Regions from separate parts of the Homo sapiens genome. Here all the other regions are linked to region 1. Evidence: promoter capture Hi-C in 16 types of primary human blood cells and fetal thymus (Javierre and others, 2016). All regions are on one chromosome and are shown on one strand. The core of a region is centred on a gene start or on the middle of the fragment in contact, and the rest is flanking DNA. Distances in the headings are between cores, read along the strand shown. Region 1 holds the start of MSL2 (MSL complex subunit 2). Region 2 holds the start of MRAS (muscle RAS oncogene homolog). Region 3 overlaps ARMC8 (armadillo repeat containing 8).

Region 1 (2,684 bases), core at 85-2,584:
CCACAATAGATTTACACGCATCATAATTTTCACTTTGCAAACGTATAGAGTACCTACTGTGCATGAAAAATTATGCTGAGGAGCTTTGGTGTGTACAGAGATAAGAAATGCTTCCTATGGCCTGTTACTATTTGTGCTACTCAAAAAAAGGTTTTGTACTTTGAGATGGGAGGGAAGTCATCTACTAAGTCAGGCTTTTGTTTATTTATATCCCAGTGCCCTTGATCTCCTGCAAAAACAAAAGGCAAAAGCTTGTTTTAAAAAACAAAACATTTGCAAGGATTTGGGTTTGTTCTAGAGCAAGATCACGCATTCTTCAAGACATCTGTTCACACAGAAGAGCTAGGTCTTTTAAAAAAGCTAGGTCTTTCAAAAAAAAAAAAAAGGAGTTCGTTTTGTTTTTAAAACAGGACTCTGTTCCGGTGAGAGCTCGGTGAAGTCCTGATCGGCACCCATGAAGGTGAGGCCGCACGAGTCCAAGGGCCAGAGGCCGTGGGAACAGCGCGGGTCCGACGGGTAGGAGGGGGCAGTGGGTTCGAGCCTCCACGCTTACATACAGCCTGCCAGGGCCTTAGAGCCCTCTGACTGCGAACCACCGCAGAGAGGTGCGGAACGCGGCCCCGACCCGGCAAAAGCCGTCCGCACGCCTGCTGGGCGCGCAGCCACGTTGACTACTGCAGCCTTCCCGGCTCGGCGAGAGCCTGCCAGCCAGCCGAGGCTGCGCCCTTTCCGCGGTCGGGATGAGCGGTTCCAGGAGAAAGGCCGCGAGGGCGGGGCTTGGGGCCTGGCGCGGCTATTTCCTCACACCGCGGTCAGTCAGGACGAGAGGCCGCGTTCAGGCCAGTGCAGAGCGCCACATGGCGCTACCAAGTCGGGCCCCGGCGTTGGCGGGCACAGAAGCAGTGTAATGCGGGAAGCCTGCAGCCCACACTGGGGAAGGATGTGCCAGCTAACGAATGTTTCACCACAGCCCACATGCCTGGGAGAGGGAATTTGAGAGCACGTGGGGGAGGGGCGAAGAGAGCTGTCGGCTCGCAGAGAGCATGCTCCATTCTGAGAGTCGAAGTGGAGAGCCAGGCATGCGCAGTGAGCCCAGGGTGGGTTGGCAGCGGTGAGGGACTGGCGCGAGCAGGCTGATGTGTTTATCCGGTTTTCTGGGTGGGCGGTCAAAGCGCACGCGGAAGGGCGAAAGGCGGCGGAGCTAGGTAGCAGCTTGCGCATGCGTGGAGTGAGCCGGTAGCTCTGGGAGGCTGTGGAGGGGGTTGTTAGAGGAGAAGCAAGGGAAAAGGGAAGCGAAGGGAGAGGAAAGGGGGGAGGGGTGAGAGTGTGCTCTGCGCATGCGTGCGAGCGCTAGCGACGACGGCGGCGGGGGAGTCTCGGGGATGACAGTGGCTTTGCCCGTTGGGGTAACGGTCGTCGTCGCCGCCAGCAGAGGCCTGAGGCGCCACACAGCCCGCGGGATCCATTAAGGCCGCAGCAGCCCGGGCCCTACCGAGCTGGAGTGGCGCGTGGAGTCGGGGTGAGGGCGGCGAGGCACGGGGGAGGGGCCTGCGGCGGGGCCTTGCTGTGTGCGCTGGGCGGCGGCGGGGCCTGGCGGTGTGAGCGCTTGCCTTCCGCGGCCGGGGAGTGCTGAGGGCGGCGGCGGCCGTCGTGCTCGGCGGAGGAGTCGTCTGTGTGTGTGGCGCCGAAAAAATGGCCGGGCAGTGAGGGGGCGGCGCTTGAGTCTGGTGACCCCGGAGTGTGCGACTGAGGCGCGAGGGGCGCCGCCGCGGCCCGGCCGGGCTTGCCCCCCGCCCCCTCCCGCCCGCCGGCGGCGGCCCGCGCACTTCCTCCCCGGCCTTCCCCTCCGGGTTGAGGACTCCCGCCCGCCTCGCCACCTCGGGGAACTGCGGGCTGCAACCCACGGGGCGGAGAGCCAGGGCGCAGTCTGGGCCCCGCGTCCGATATGGAGAGCGCGGCGGCGGCGTCCGCCAGCCGCAACATCAACCTTCGTCGCCGCCGCGGCGTCTTGCACTAGATCCGGGAAGCCGCTGCCCGACCGTCGTCCTTGCCGTCGCCGCCGCCTCCGCGCCCTGTACTGGGATGGAGTAAGAGGCCCTGCAGCCCGGGAGAAGCGTGCCGCGCCTCAGACGGGGCCGGGGCCTGCTCCCGCGCCTGCCAGCTCGACTTGAGGAGGCGCCTCCGTGTCCGGAGATGGAGCTCGAGTGCAGGCCGCCTGCCGAGCCGCGGGGCTAGACTGAGCTCCGAGTCCCGCCCCGAGCGCCCAAGCCGCCGCGTTCTGCGCTCTGTGGTCGCTCCGGACGAACTCGAACGCTGGTTTCTCTCTCATATTTTTGGTCTGGAAGTCTCAGGGACGGAGGGGCGCCAAGGCCCCATGTGTGGGAGGATTGTTTCAGCTCCACAAACTTGCACGGATTTTGGTTACTTGTTTGGCCAATGGTTCGGCTCTGATTTCTTCCGAATTGTTGCAAATTCGCCATCGTTCCCTGGCTGCTTACTAAGTTGGATCCGGAATTTCTTTTCAACCGGGAGCCATTGGTGTCGAAGTGTCTGCAATGAACCCCGTGAATGCTACTGCTCTCTACATTTCCGCGAGCCGCCTAGTGCTCAACTACGACCCCGGAGACCCCAAGGCGTTTACTGAGATTAACAGGCTCTTGCCTTACTTCCGACAGTCCCTTTCG
Region 2 (2,684 bases), core at 47-2,546, 2.2 Mb before region 1:
CAAATGATGAGCAAATCCACTTCAAGTGCCTGGTCTTTGGAAGCCCTGTTGGTTGCTGTTATTACAGTGGAGTTTCAGAGCTCTTAAAGTCATATCTCCATCTTACTTCTGCTGCCAGACAAACCTCTGGAGGCCACGATTCCGAGCCTTGTCAGCCACCCTCTCTGGTCAGGTCCAGGACAGAGTGAGTCCTAGAGGAGCAAGGCCAGGGAGGTTCCACACCATCAGGGGCCATTGGGGAGTAGGGGCAATGGCAGAGCTCTATGATCAAGGCCCCAGTGGCCTTGATGGACTCTGTCCACCTCTCCAGACTCCACTTTGCCCCAGGCCAGAACAGACCTCAGCTCTAGCCAGAGTCTAACTGGGTGTCCAGTGTATACGCTGCGGCCAGCCAGACATTAACTCCTCTAGGCGGCCTTCTCTCACCTCCCACTCTGCAGTAGGGACCCCTAGGGGCTCCCACAACCCCTGGGCTTACCGAATCTCAGCACTTACCACACTGGCTTGTCACTTTGTGCTCTTGTCTTCCCCGCAGGGCAGGACTGGCACCGTGTCTGATGCCTCAGCCAGATCAGTTCAATGCATGAGCCCAGGCCCTAGTTGTGACCACAGCTCCAGCTCCCCAAACCTCCGGGGGCAGTGAAGGGTTGTTTATGAAGCAGGCTGCGTTTTATTATTCAGATGAATTTGTCAACTCCCTGGCGGATCCCTCCCCTCGTTAACGCCATCTTAAGGCGGGGGGGTAAAGAGTCCCCCACCCACCCACCCATCCCCCGCCGCCCCGTCCTGCCGCCCATCTATCCACCGGGTTCTCGCCCAGGCAGCCAAGGAACTGTAATTACCATGAAAGGGTCTCTCTGAGCGGCGCGCAGGCCCTCCCCACTGGGGTCTTGGTCGTGGCCGATTTCACGAACGCACACCGTTACGCGGGAGCCCGCGATGGGGGCAAAACGCCACGCACAGCCGGTCCCAGGGCGCACCCCGCAAGCGGAGAGCGCGGCCGAGCCCGGAGGGCGGCCACACCTCCCGCCCCGGAACAAAGCGACGGCCGGGGCGAGAGGCGGCGCGGCCGGGCCCCCTCCCCTCCAAGGCCGCCCGACCACTCACCGCGCGCTCCAGCCCCGGCTCGGCTACGGCACTCAGGCCGCCCCCTCCTAGCCTGCGCCGGTGAGGAGGCAGCGTCGCGCCCGCCGGGCCCCGCGGCCGCCGGACTGACGGCTCCCCGCCAGCCGGCCACTCCGGTCCGTCCCCGCCCCGGCGCCTCCTTAAAGCGACCGCGCCGCCAGCGTGCGCCCCGAGCGCCTAGCGCGCCGCGCATTCCTTATATTGCCACAGCGCCTGCTAAAAATAGAGCGCCGCTGCGGGCGCGCCAGTGGGGAGCCCGGGCCGGGTGCCTCGACCCTGTCGCCCCCGCGTGCACCCCGGCCCCCAGGACGCGCGCCTACGAAGTCCAGCCCACCCGCGCCGAGTCCCCTGGGCCCGGCAGGGCGCGCTAGAGCGCCAGGGGCTGGGGTCGGCGCCGCAGCCTCTCCCGCGGCCCAGCACTTACCCGGGTCAGATCCGTGGTGCCGGGGAGCTGGCTTTAAGGTGGACGCCGAGTGGGAATTCGACTCGGCCTCTTTAAGAGCCTCTGCGCTCCAACCTTTAAATCTCCGCTCCGGCCGGGCCAACTTCTGAGCCTAGGGACGCCTCCCCAGTCCTAGGCGAACCTCCGCCGCCACCTTAGCTGCATTCCCTTCGAATCCTGAGACGTCTTTCTTCCAGATCATGCCCCAGCGTCTCTCCCCGCAGGCCTTCTGGGTGCACCGTTCCAGGGCCCAAACTTCGTTGGGATGGATGCGACGGGGACAGGCGACACTCGCGCACCATTTCATTGTTTCAGTTCCGCTAACTCCTCTCCAGCGGCGTCATTTTCCCCCCGTTAAAAAAATAAAGATATAATTCAACACCATAAAATTCCACCTTTTGAAGTGTACAATTCAAGCCGGGCGCGGTGGCTCACGCCTGTAATCCTAACACTTTGGGAGGCCGAGGCGGGTGAATCGCCTGAGGTCAGGAGTTCAAGACCAGCCTAGGCAACATGGTGAAACCCCGTCTCTACTAAAAATACAAAAGTCAACCCGGCATGGCGGCACGTGCCTGTGATCTCATCTACTCGGGAGGCTGAGGCAGGAGAATCACGTGAACCCGGGAGGCAGAGGTTGTAGTGAGCCGAGATTGCGCTACTGCACTCTAGCCTGGGCAACAGAGTGAGACGCTGTCTCAAAAAAAAAAAAGTGTACGATTCAGTGGTGTTTAGCATATTCACAAAGTTTTGCAACCATCACCATGAGCTAATTCCAGAACATTTTCACCACTTCCCACTCCCCTCCCCTGCCCCTCACAAAAAGAACTACCCGTTAGCAGTCACTCCTCATTCACCCCTTTCCTCCGCCTCTGGGAACCACTAATCTACTTTCAATCTCTATGGATTTCCCTATTCAGGACATTTTCTATAAACGGAATCATACAACATGTGGCCTTTTGTGACTATGACTAGCTTCTTTCAGTAACCAATGTTTAATGATCTATTCATGTTGTAACATGTAGCAGTACTTCATTCCTTTTCATGACTGAGTAATATTTCACTGTATGTCTATACGTTTTGTTTATCCCTGCATCACTTGATGGATATTTAGTTTTCT
Region 3 (2,684 bases), core at 128-2,627, 2.0 Mb before region 1:
TTATCATTTTTTATTTTTAGTGAGAGGATCTCATTCTGTCACCTAGGCTGAGGTGCAGGGGCACCATCATAGCTTAGTATAACCTCAAACTCCTAGGCTCAAGCAATCCTTCCACTGCAGTCTCATGAGCTAGGACTATAGGCATGAGCCATTGCACCAGGCTAATTTATTTTTATTTTTTTCTTGTAGAGATGGAGTCTTGTTGTCGGGCGCAGTGGCTCACACCTGTAATCCCAGCACTTTGGGAGGCCGAGGCGGGTGGATCACAAGGTCAGGAGTTCAAGACCAGCCTGGCCAAGATGGTGAAACCCTATCTCTCCTAAAAATACAAAAAATTAGCCGGGTGTGGTGGCACGCGCCTGTAATCCAAGCTACTCCAGACGCTGAGGCAGAGAAATGCTTAAACCTGGCAGGGTGAAGGTTGCAGTGAGCCGAGATCGCGCCACTGCACTCTAGCCTGGGTGACAGAGCAAGACTCCACCTCAAAAAAAAAAAAAAAAAAAGAGATGGAGTCTTGTTATGTCACTCTGGTTGATCTTGAACTCCTGGCCTCAAGCAATCCTCCCACCTCAGCCTCCCAAAGCACTGGGATTACTGGTGTGAGCCACCATGACCAACTGAGACTTTTTTACATAACACAGTTATGATGAGTCTGAAGATGCTAAGCAAATTAGGAGTAGGCTGTTGGTGAAATGTAACTAATGTCTCAAATACATCTAAAACTCACTGTATACAGTAGCTCCTCTGGAGTGACAGGACTGGTGAAGATGGTACGCAGGCATCGGAGGCAAGCTTCAATAAACTTCAGGTCTGGGGACAGTAGTCCTATTAACAGAAATGAGATTTAGGACTAATCCTTTCAACCAGTATTTAAAGCACTGCAAACTGATTCTTAACCTTAATTGAGCAAAAATGGCTTCCCTACATACCTTGCAATAAGGCAGGGATAATATGGCAGTCCAGTAGAGACTTGACATTGTTTTCAGTACCCATAGCAAGACTTCCCAACACCACTGCACATTCAGTTTTCAGCTCTGTGCTTGAGGTTTCTTGCTGAAGCAAGTACAACAATCTAAAAAGAAGGAACTTAATAAACGAAGAGACTAAAAAATTTAAACAAGACTCAATGTGACCAAAAAAGGCTGTGCAGTCCACATACTAAAAATATGGTTGGCTGAGTTTATATGAATCCAATGGTCATTTGTTTATCTCATCTGCTAATTAAAGAAACATCTGGAAAAAAAATCTAGAAGAGGTTTTGAAAAAAAGAACTATCATATTCTTAGAGTTTATAAAAAGTGTAAATCTGAAAGTTGTCCACAGATAGTCTCTGTAGAAACAGCGTCATCAGAGTCCATGTCATCTACCACTTCCTGCTGGGTCTCCAAAATATGAAGACTCTCAAATGCCATGTGCTGCCAGATCTTAAACTCAAACTAGAAATGCTACTGCTCTGAATCCAGAGCAGTGGTGCAGTTTGTAGATATCGAGCCTATAGGGAATATTCAGAGCCCTTGTGCAGCTCCTCAAGCAAAGGTAGTTTCTTCTTTCTCCAGCTCTCTCATTTGGAAAAGGAAGAGATCCTCTCATTTCCACTCCAGCCCAGCTTGCCAAACAAATACTCCCCAAACCCTAACCTTCCTCCACTTATAACCATCTACCTTATGTTCTAAGACAGGACCCTCATGCTCCATAAAGCACTATTTATATATACCAAACATAAATCCCCTAAGAAAGGCTGCTGACAGCTTTATAGTTACTAAAGTATATGTTTGAGGTTGGTGAGTTAAAACACTTAAACCATTAATTCTGTATCAAAACCAGAAAATAAGGAGAAAAAAACAAAATAATAAATAATTCTGAATGAAAAGCTAATAGCAATTGCACAGAAAACTTAGCTCTGAGGAGCAAAAGTAAAGAGGAAGTTATGTAACTGTCATTGCCTGCCTAAAGGAAGCTTATTAGGTCATCAAAAGAAGAAATTAAACTTCCTAAACTTCTTACGTTAACTTAAAAAACAGCAAGTTGTAAAAATCAGAAGTTAAAAAATGAAACTGGATTAAAAATCAAGCAGGGTTTTTTTCCTTTAAATTCAAAAAGGTCTTAAGGCTCCTAATAAATTACCCACTCACACAAAAAACTGCCAAGGCTCTAAGGAAATGGAGAAGAAAGTATCAGGCTGTTGTACATTGCATATGTACTTTACGAACCCTTTTGTCATCAGGTCAAAGGTCTTCCTGAGTTTCCAAAATGTATTAACACATTCACTTCTTACTACATTCTCTGTTACTTTATAATTTTTTTCCTTAAAGATAGTTTAAATACTTACATTTATTTTTAAAAATAGGATTTATTTTAAGAATTAGACAGACAATACAGGAAAAATGGGTTCTATAATTGAGAGTAAGAAATACATTAGAAACTAGTATGAATGGCAAGAAAGGGGTGAGACAGCAAACATACCTTGGAACAGCTCCTAAAACAATGAGATTGGCTTTCTGCTTGTTGTTTCCAATTACAGCATTTTTCATGTCTCTGAATTAAGGGGAAGAAAAAATAAAGTATGTTGAGACAGCACTGAAGAAAAATCAAAGATCATTCTACTTCATTATGCAATATCTTAGATTTGACAAAGTAAAAGCACTAACCTTTTTTCACCTAAAGTACTAATGAAGGGATAGAGA

The links. Contacts are between HindIII fragments. The CHiCAGO score rates a contact against its expected background, and 5 or more counts as called.
Region 2: the fragment with the promoter of MRAS here is called in contact with the fragment with the promoter of MSL2 in region 1 in 2 of 17 cell types (M0 macrophages and M2 macrophages); the score reaches 6.0 in M0 macrophages.
Region 3: a contact is called between a fragment that was not itself captured here and the fragment with the promoter of MSL2 in region 1, in 7 of 17 cell types (M1 macrophages, M2 macrophages, naive CD8 T cells and 4 more). The highest score is 7.8, in M1 macrophages.

What each region holds. Positions count from the first base shown.
Region 1 is chr3:136,194,985-136,197,668 of GRCh38, reverse strand. MSL2 (MSL complex subunit 2) reads left to right here and starts at 1,334. Exons shown (of 2, transcript NM_018133.4): 1 at 1,334-2,684. The coding sequence starts at 2,556. RefSeq lists enhancers at 787-1,086, 1,257-1,306, 884-1,630, 2,257-2,326, 1,631-2,377 and 2 more and a silencer at 1,527-1,916. The HindIII fragment of the contact is 2,546 bases long and covers 254-2,684 here.
Region 2 is chr3:138,347,191-138,349,874 of GRCh38, reverse strand. It overlaps MRAS (muscle RAS oncogene homolog), which reads right to left and starts at 1,296. Exons shown (of 6, transcript NM_001085049.3): 1 at 1,108-1,296. RefSeq lists an enhancer at 829-1,784. The HindIII fragment of the contact is 4,446 bases long and covers 1-2,684 here.
Region 3 is chr3:138,221,777-138,224,460 of GRCh38, reverse strand. It overlaps ARMC8 (armadillo repeat containing 8), which reads right to left. Exons shown (of 22, transcript NM_001363941.2): 3 at 2,464-2,535; 4 at 930-1,072; 5 at 728-825. Among named protein-coding and RNA genes, the nearest start is that of ARMC8, 36 kb to the right of the region's middle. The HindIII fragment of the contact is 1,165 bases long and covers 795-1,959 here.